Linked DNA regions of Homo sapiens: region 1 is linked to region 2. The links are contacts of gene promoters, found by promoter capture Hi-C in human tissues and cell types (Jung and others, 2019). All regions are on one chromosome and are shown on one strand. Each heading gives the region's core, a stretch centred on a gene start or on the middle of the fragment in contact. The rest is flanking DNA. Distances are from core to core; before and after follow the strand shown.

What was found. The method cuts DNA at HindIII sites, captures the fragments that hold promoters and counts their contacts. A contact is called where the count stands out against the background at its distance.
Region 1: a fragment that was not itself captured here is called in contact with the fragment with the promoter of NUDT1 in region 2 in 1 of the 25 tissues and cell types used here (mesenchymal stem cells).

The regions. Positions count from the first base shown.
Region 1 is chr7:3,482,179-3,486,946 of GRCh38, reverse strand. The region is part of intron 1 of SDK1 (sidekick cell adhesion molecule 1); the gene reads right to left. Among named protein-coding and RNA genes, the nearest start is that of SDK1-AS1, 130 kb to the right of the region's middle. The HindIII fragment of the contact is 8,636 bases long and covers 1-4,768 here.
Region 2 is chr7:2,239,862-2,244,570 of GRCh38, reverse strand. NUDT1 (nudix hydrolase 1) reads right to left here and starts at 2,345. Exons shown (of 4, transcript NM_002452.4): 1 at 2,315-2,345; 2 at 1-8. It overlaps MRM2 (mitochondrial rRNA methyltransferase 2), which reads left to right and starts at 2,366. Exons shown (of 3, transcript NM_013393.3): 1 at 2,366-2,409. The coding sequence starts at 2,402. RefSeq lists a silencer at 2,440-2,659 and an enhancer at 2,982-3,833. The HindIII fragment of the contact is 10,120 bases long and covers 1-4,709 here.

The DNA.
Region 1 (4,768 bases), core at 1,017-3,516, 1.2 Mb before region 2:
ATAACCTTTACACATGTAATAATAGTTTTAATATTTATATAAGATAAACTGGTAGAGAATAAGACAGTTAAGAGAGGCAGAGAGTAATGCACCCTCTTATCAAACATGTGGAATGTTCACAAAAATTATCTAAGTTTTAGGACAAAAGGATATATTTACAAATTAAAAAAATACAAGTCTTCCAAATCTTTTAAAATAAATGTAATAGGATAAAATTAAAACGTGGCTAAAAATCTACTATCTCTACATCTATCTACCTATTGAAATTTAACGCCTTACTTGTGCTTTGGGATGAAGAAAAAAAAACTGAAGAAAAATTTCCATTTTCATCATACATACATAACAAATAAAGCGCACAAAATAAAGACTGGGAAACAGCCACAGCAGGGTCAGAAAAAATCATAGCATAAAATGCATTTACCAGAAAACACAAGAGATTGAAAATAAGTAAACTTAGTTTATAACTTACAAAATTAGGGGGGTAAAAACAAAACCAAACAGGAAAGTAGAATAAATTATTAGACATAAAAAAAGAAATGAATTAGAAAACCAAACAAAAATACCAGCACATTTGAAACCCAGGTTCTTTGAAATGACCCATAAAACTGGCTAAGTTTTGCCAAGTCTAACTAAGAAAAAAGAAAGAAGATCCAAATAAAGTACAATAGAAATGGAAAAGAAAACAACCTCAGATATTAAAGATTTAAAATTTAACTCCATATAATTTTAATTAACATTAAAAGCTAAGCAAAACAGATACTAGAAGAATGTTCTAAAATTTTCATAAGAAAAAAGAAAACAAAAGACCAAATAACCATAGAAGAAATCAAAATTACAGGTAATAATTTAACTCAGGGGGGAAAAAAGCACTAAGCATAGATGATTTTAATGAAGAGTTTTTCAGATCTTCAAAAAATAGATAAAACCAATATTATATAAACTGTCCAATATTATATAAACTGTCCTAATAGTGTCCTAAAAGCACTAGGCATAGATGGTTTTAATGAAGAGTTTTTCAAATCTTCAAAAAATAGATAAAACCAATATTATATAAACTGTCCTAACGGGACAAAGAATAAGATTTTTTAAAAACCTAAGATGTTTTAGAAAGCCACCATAGTTGGATTCATAAATATAATAAGAAAACACACTTACGTGGGAATAGCACTTATGAATATAGATGGAACATTTTTAAATAAAGTTTAAAAATTACCAGAGAGAAAGGTGGAGCAAGATGGCTCAAAAAAAAAAAAAAAAAAAAAACCCTCCAAAGATCATCCCCTCAGCACAAACATCAAAATGAACAACTATCCATACAAGAAAGCATTTTCATAACAGCTAAAAATCAGATGGGAGATGACAGGACCTGGTTTTAGCTTAACAAGAAAAGATGCATTTAAAGGGGTAGGGAAGACAGTCTCACATTACCTACACCCTGGTACCTCATCCCCAGGCAGCACAGCCTGGAGGGAAAACACCTATGCTTGGGGTAGGGAAAGCAAAGTGAGTGTGGGACTTGGCATTGGAACTAGGTGTTAGCCCTGCCACGGTGGAACCCAGCACTGAACTCAAACAACTCAATCGCAAATAAGCAAATAATCTGATTTTTAAATGGGCAAAGTATCTGAAGAGACATTTCTCAAAAGAAGACCTGCAAATGGCCACCACGTCTAGGGAAAAAATGCTCAATATCACTAGTCATTAAGAAACGCAAATCAAAACCACAGTGAGATTTCATCTCACCCCAGATATGATAGCTATTATCAAAAAGACAGAAAATAACAAATGCTGGCTAGGATGCAGAGAAAAAGAATGTTCATACGGTCTTGGTGAGAATGTAAATTGGCAGAACTATTATGGAAAACAGTATGGAGGGTCCTCCAGAAATGGAAAATAGAACTGCCATATGATCTAGCAATTCCGCTGCTGGGTATATACCCAAAAGAAAGGAAATTAGTCTATCAAACAGATGACCTGCAGTCCCACGTTTACTACAGCTCCATTCACAATAGCCAAGATATGGAATCAAGCTAAATGCTCATCAACAGATGAATGAACAAACAAAATATGTTATGCTTCCACAAAGGAATACTATTCAGCCACTGAAAAAATGAAATGCTGTCATTTGCAGCAACACGTTTATAACTGGAGGACATTAAGCGAAAGTCAGGCCCAGAAAGACAAATATCCCATGTTCTCACTCCTATGTGGGAGCTAAAAAAAACCGATCTTGTGGAGGTAGTGAGTGCAACAGTGTTTCCCAGAGGCTAGGAAGGGCAGGGGAGAGGAAAGTGTGAGGCGAGGTTGGTTATGGATACAAAACCACAGTTAGAGGAAAGGAATAAGTTCTAGTGTTCAACAGCACTGGCAGGAGACCATAGTTAACTATTGTACAGTTAATCCTTGAACAACTCTGGTTTGAACTGCCAGGATCCACTTATACAAGGATATTTTTCCAACCAAACTGAAAATATAGCCGTTCCTCGGTCTACATGGGGAACTAGTTCCAGGACCCTCATGTTTACCGAAATCCTCACACACTCATGTCCCGAAGTCGGCCTTGTGGAACCTCATATTCAACAAGTCAGCCCCCATATATGTAGGTTTCGCATCCAGTGAATATGTATTTTCGATCTATGTTTGGTTGAAAAAAAATGTGTGTATACATGGACCCATGCAGTTCAAATCCTACAAAACTGTACAGTATTGGAGGGATGTGAATTCATGGATACAGAAGGTGAAATTTTGTATCCGTGGGTTTGGCAGGGCCACCTGTGGACTGGAGCATGCTTCGATTTTGGTTATACAGGGGACCCTGGAATCAACCCCTCACATATACTGAAGTAAGGCATTTCTTAAATAGCTGCAAGAGAATATTTGGAGTATCCCCAACACACAGAAATGATAAATGTTTGAGGTGACAGATATCCCAATTACCCTGATTTATTACACATCATATGCGTATATCAAAATATCACATGTACCCCATAAATATGTCCAACTATTATGTATTAGTTAAAAACTAAAAATAAATTTTAAAATGTTAGACAAGTATTATGGCCATGTAGAGCTTATCCAACGTATATATAAACATTTTAATGATAAAGAGGAGAAAAAAGAAATGTTCCAATGAATTTACTATAGTCATGTATTAAAGGAGAAACATCATGTAACTATCAGAGACTGAAATAAATATCATCTAATAGTACTGAACACCCATTCCTAACAAAAATGCTTAGCAAATTCTGATAAAAGGTATATATCAAAAATTTAGAGAAAATATTACATTTAATGGTAAAATATTAGAAGCATCCATTAAAATGAAGAAGAAAACAAGGATATCTGTTCCACTTGTTAAAATCCCGCATTGTAGTGGTGCAGGGATTGCAATAAGATAAAAATTTAGAGACAGAAATATTCACAAGGAAATGATTATCACAATTTACAAACAATATGATTATTCACCTAGAAAATCAGAGGCAATCAGAAAAAGTAAGGGATTTTGGCAAGCGCAAAACATACAAGGTGAACACAAAACTCAACAGCCTTCTTACATCTTCAATATAGCCAATTTAAGCATTTAATAGGAAAGAGCAACATAAATGGAAAAGTGGGTATAAAACTAAAAAAAGGTGGCAAGATCTTTATGAAGACAACTATAAAACTTGACTAAAGGACATAAAAGAAGCCTGAATAAACTAAAAGATATACTCTATTCAGAAATGCTAGGACTCAATACTGTAAAGATGTCAGTTTTTAACAAAGTAATCTATAAAGGTAACCCCTATCCTCATCAAAATTCAAACATGATTTTTCAGGAACTTGACAAGCCAATCCTAAAACTCACATAAAATATGTAAGAAAACTTCTAAAAAGAACAATGAAAAAATTTGAACATTTTAAAAAGTTTACAATATGACAAGTGTTAATTAAACTGGTGTGATTTTAACAAAGCAAGAGAAATCAATTAATAGGAGAGAATTAAAAAGACTTGAAATCATCATTGTTGTCACCAGCATCATCATAGCTAACGTTTACTTAGCACTTATTACGTGTCAGGCAATTTTCTAAGCTTATTACACAGATTATTTCGTAATCAAGATGTACATTTTATGTCCTGTGAGTTGCCTGAGAATCCTTTACCTGTTTTCCTGTTTTGTTGCCTTCAGTAATGCCTTGAATATTGGGTGGAAGCTGCTTTCCTCCAGAGAGGAGTTGTATTTGTTTTTGCCAGTTGCCTGGGTACACAACTACTTGAAGACCACGTTGAATTGTTTGCTGGAGGTTGTTTTGGACCTCCCCAGTAGGATAGCAGGAATGTGCAGGGAAGACCTGTGGGAGGCCCTCTGGTGGTCATCAATTCTCAGAGAAGCGCTTTCCTTGCTACTCCAGTGAGTTAAGGCTTGTTTCCTTCTCTCTTCTGCGCAGAGATTTCTTTCTCATTCACCTTTTACATTACGGACTTTAGGGTTCCAGATTTATTCAGCAATAAATCTTGGAGCTTCCCACTTTGTAGAAACCATGGGCTTTATTGCCTATCTCCGGAGTCCCATGCAGCCATCAAAGCAGACACTCCCGGCCCTTGAGTTCAGAAAGACGGTGAAGGCAGTCTAAGAGCTCGCTGCCCTCCCTAGAGTCTGGCTTGCCCTTTTTCACCCTGCCAATTCCGTCTTCTCTTGCCTGGTCAGAAATACATTTTCAATAGTTTTTTACATCTCTCCTCTAATATTTTTAATTGTTGTTAGTAGGTAGGTAGTTTAAGGTATCT
Region 2 (4,709 bases), core at 1,096-3,595:
CCTGGGTTCTGAAAGGAAGGTGAGAGGGCAGAGTCAGCCATGACGTGCGTGGAGGAAGCACGTGCCAGGGGCCAGGAGGAAGGGGACGTGCTCTGGGAGGCAGTGGGGGGCGGGGGGGTATGCTGTAACTCCCCAGCCCTGCCACGTGTGGCTTCCCTTGTGGCAGGTGGAAAACTGCCATTGAACCAGTGATTTTCTGGGGTAGAAACAGAACCCAGTGGTCAGCAGGGCTGATCAAGCAGAGCAGAGGCCGGCGCTACCTTCCTTCTCCACAAGTCAGTACTCAGGTGCAGAGGACAACATCACCTTTCCAGAGCGTGCTCTTGCTCCTGCGTCTACCCCCAGGAACCCCCTGCTTATAGGCACACAGTGAGGAACAACAGTCCCCGTGCCTGATTGGCACCAAAATAACCACGCAGTTTATCCTGTGGTCCTCAGGTCAGGCCTTTGGATTAACAGGAACTTCTTTCAGTCTAGTGGGACCTGGCCTCTCTGTAGCAGGCTTCCAGATTCCCAGGAAATGTGTGGCTGTAGACACAGGTCCACCCAGCCAGGCCCGGCTAGTCCTCCCTCCTGTGATAGGAGTTTATACCCCACCCACTCTGCTCCTGCTGTGGCTACTGTGGGACCTGGCACCCAGGGGGGCCACTGGAAGTCACAAGGGTCCTTCCTGCTCCCATAGGTGTGCAGGTCCAGGTCCAGAGGACTCTGAGGGCGATGCCTCCGCCAGGTCCCTGCTGAAAAAAGGACCCTGGAGAAATGCTGGAGGGCCAGGACCAACTTTCCTTTATTTATTTTGAGACAAGATCCTGCTCTGTTGCCCAGGCTGGAGGAGAGTGGCGTGATCGCGGTTCACTGTAACCTCCGCCTCCCTGGCTGAAGCCATCCTCCTGCCTCAGCATCCCACATAGCTGGGACCACAGGCATGAGCCGCCACACCCAGCTAATTTCTGTATTTTTAGTAGAGATGGGGTTTTGTCACGTTGCCCAGGCTGGTCACGAACTCCTGAGCTCAAGCGATCCACCCACCTCAGCCTCCCAAAGTGCTGAGATTACAGGCGTGAGCCACTGCGCCCAGCCAGGACCAACTTTTCTGGGGTCCACACCTGGACAAGACACAGGGTTCAGGACCAGTGATCCTTCTTGGAAGTTGTGGTGTCTGAGAAAAGGGACCAGATGATAAGGAAGGGGGCAGGGAAGTGCTGGGTAGAGGAGGGCGTGGTCTCTGGCCAGGGCTCCACACCCAGGCCTGTGCCCAGGGACCTGGGTGAGGACAGGCATTTCTGTTTTTTTGCCCAAATGTTGCATTTCCCGAGCCCGCCACGTCCCCGTCCTGTGCCTATAAAAAAACCCCAGTGGTTTTTTATAGTGGGCAGAGACACAAGCCGCTGGACGTCAAGAGGACGTGGAAAGCACACCAACAGGCACCAGCAGGCCATCAACTGATGGAACCATGAGTTTGGCAGGGGCGGTCAGAGGAGAGCCCAGGCTGCTCAGCAGCCCGACTCCAGGGGAAAATCACCTTCCCACTCCAACTGCCTTCTGGCTCCCCCATCTGCTGAGGGCTAATTCCACTCATAAAACCTTGCACTCACTCTCCAAGCCGCCGTGTGATCTGATTGCTCCAGTACATCAAGGCAAGAAACCTAGGGATACAGAAAGCCCTCTGTCCTTGCGATAAGGCAGGGAGTCTAACAGCTGACTAACACAAGCCACCTACAAGGCTAAACTGAAAGAGCACCCTCTAACACATGCCTGCTGGGGCTTCAGGAGCTGCAAACATTCACCCCTAGACACTGCCGTGGGGTGGGAGCCCCTCAGCCTGCCTGTCTGTATGTTCCCCTAGAGGCTTGAGAAGCGGGGCACTGAAGAAGTGAGCCACATCCTCATCGCACGCCCTTCGAGGAGGACAAGGGAACCTTTCCCATTTCACTGAGACTGGGTCCTGGTGGCGGAGGCAGGTCAGACAGGGTAAATGGGTTTGTGGCTTAGTTTCACACCAGGCCCGTGTACTTTGTCCCGACACTGATCTGTTTCTGCCAGAAGCCACGGTTTCCAAAGTAAATTTTTGTGATTTACTCCTGGTCTCCCCCAAGCCTCCGCCCCGCTCTCCTTGTCTCTCTCCCAAACCCCCGGCCCCGCTCTCCTCGTCTCCCTCGAGCCCCCGACCCTGCTCTTCTGGTCTCCTTCGAGCTCCCGGCCCCGCTCTCCCCCAAGCCCATGGCTCAGCTCCCCTAGTCTCCTGCCGCCCGCTGGCCCGGCTCCCCTCCCTGGTCACCACGACTCCTGGAATCCCCGCGCGCGCTTTTCGTACCTGCACCGCCGCTTCCGGGGGCGTGGCCTCTGACCGGAAGTGAGGCCAGGCACTTCCGGCGGCGCGCTGCAGGCGCGGGGAACACCAATGGCGGGGTGAGCTGGGCGCTGCTGCTGCGCGTGCAGACAGCGGGAGTGGTTGGGGGTCCGCCCGGTCGCCTTCCTCGGTCCTGGCCTCGGGGCTGGGTGCCGAGCGCTGGGCACCGTCCCCGCACTCAGCGAGCGCGACAGGGGCGAGGCCAGGATTCCGGGTCGCAGTTCCCCGGGAGGAGGGCGCCCTCAGGTCTCCAGGGGCAGGGCCGGCGGGGCCGTGGGGAGGCCGGGGCCGGCGGCGGAGTCCAGGTGGGGGGCGCAGCGCCGGGGCCCAGATCCAAGGCGCCGGGGGCGAGCCCGGGGCGGGATTTCGCTTCTGGGCCGGGTAGCTCCATTGCCCGCGCTTCCTGGGCTGTCGAGTGGGCCCTGGCCCCCGGGACCGGCTTGTGCCATTTTCCCGGGAGACCCCTTAAGCGAGGGGAAGACAGCGACTCACGGTCAGCAGTCAGTGCCTCCTGGCTTGTCAGCACGCTTTGGTGTTGCAGAAGCTAGAAGCTTTGGCCTTGGAGCCATGAGGGTGGTAACTTTTATTTATTTATTTAAATCAGAAAGATGGACATAGAGACCGGGCTTGGTGGCCCACACCTGTCATCCCAGCACTTTGGAAGTCTGAGGCAGGAGGATCGTTTGAGCCTAGGAGTTCGAGACCAGCCTAGGCAATGTAGTGAGATGCCATCTCTAAAAAAGGTTTTTAAGAATTAAAAAAAAAAAAAAAATTAGCCCAGGCATGGTGGTGCACACCTGTAGTCCCAGCTACTCAGGAGGCTGAGGTGGGAGGTTCACTTGAGACCCAGAGGTTATGGCAGCAATCAGCTGTGATTGTGCCACTGCAACTCCAGCCTGGATGATAGCAAAACAAAAATGGCCGGGTGAGGTGGTTCACGCCTGTAATCCCAGCACTTTGGGAGGCCAAGGTGGGCTGATCGCCAGAGGTCAGGAGTTCGAGACCAGCTCGGCCAACATGGTGAAATCCCATCTCTACTGAAAATAGAAAAATTAGCCGGAAGTGGTGGCACACACCTGTAGTCTCAGCTACTCAGGAGGCTGAGGTGGGAGGTTCACTTGAGCCCCAGAGGCTGTGGCTGCAGTCAGCTGTGATCATGCCACTGCACTCCAGCCTGGGTAATAGTAAAACCCTGTCTCTAAAAAAACAAAAAGAAGAAAGAAATGCCTGGGTGCAGTGGCTTACACCTGTAATCCCAGCACTTTGGGAGGCCAAGGCGGGCAGATCAGCGGAGGTCAGGAGTTTGAGACCAGCCTGGCCAACATGGTGGAACCCATCTATACTGAAAATACAAACATTAGCCGGACATGGTAGCAGGTGTGCCTGTAATCCCAGCTACTTGGGAGGCTGGGGCAGGAGAATTGCTTGAACCCGGGAGTCGGAGGCTGCAGTGAGCTGTCACTGCACTCCAGCCTGGGCGCCAGAGTGAGACTCCGTCTTAAAAAAAGAAAAAGAGGACATAGAACTTCCTTGGTGAGGTTGTTGTCAGAGTTAAACAAGGGGAGGTGTGTATAGCTTCCACCTGCTTAGCTATTGTGGGCTGTGAATAAATTGTTACATTTATTGTAACAATTGTCTAGAGAATCTTGGAAATTGTCCTTCAACGATTGACACAGGTTTAGTTCAATTTTATTTAAGACATGTAGGTGAGAGGATTGTTTGAGCCCAGGAGTTCGAATCTGCGTTGAACCGTGACCTCACCACTGCACTCCAGCCTGGGCTATAGAGCGAGACCCTGTCTCGAAAAAAAGAAGAAAAAAAGAAATGTGACAGGCCAGACCCTCTGTACTAGCTGTCAAAGCCCTGGAACTAGGTCACTAAGGCAAGGATCTGTCCTTATGAGGTTTTCTTGCAGCCTGTCAGAGCCCAATGAACATTTTTGCCAGATGAGAAAATAATATTACTTTAATTAATTAATTGATGTATTTAGTTATTGTTTGAGACAGAGTCTCGCTCTGTCGCCCAGGCTGGAGTGCAGTGGCGCAATCTCGGCTCACTGCAACCTCTGCCTCCTGGGTTCAGGCGATTCTCCTGCTTCAGCCTCCCGAGTAGCTGGGTTTATAGGCATCTGCCACCACGCCAGGCTAATTTTTGCATTTTAGTAGAGACGGGGTTTCATCATGTTGGCCACGGTTGGCCAGGCTGGTCTCGAAATCCTGACCTCAGGGGATCCACCTGTCTTGGCCTCCAAAAGTGCTGGAATTACAGGTGTCTCCGAATACCCCCATATTCTGAGGTACCAAGGGTTAGGACATCAACACATTAATTTTGCGGGGACACAGTTTGGCCTGTGATGCCT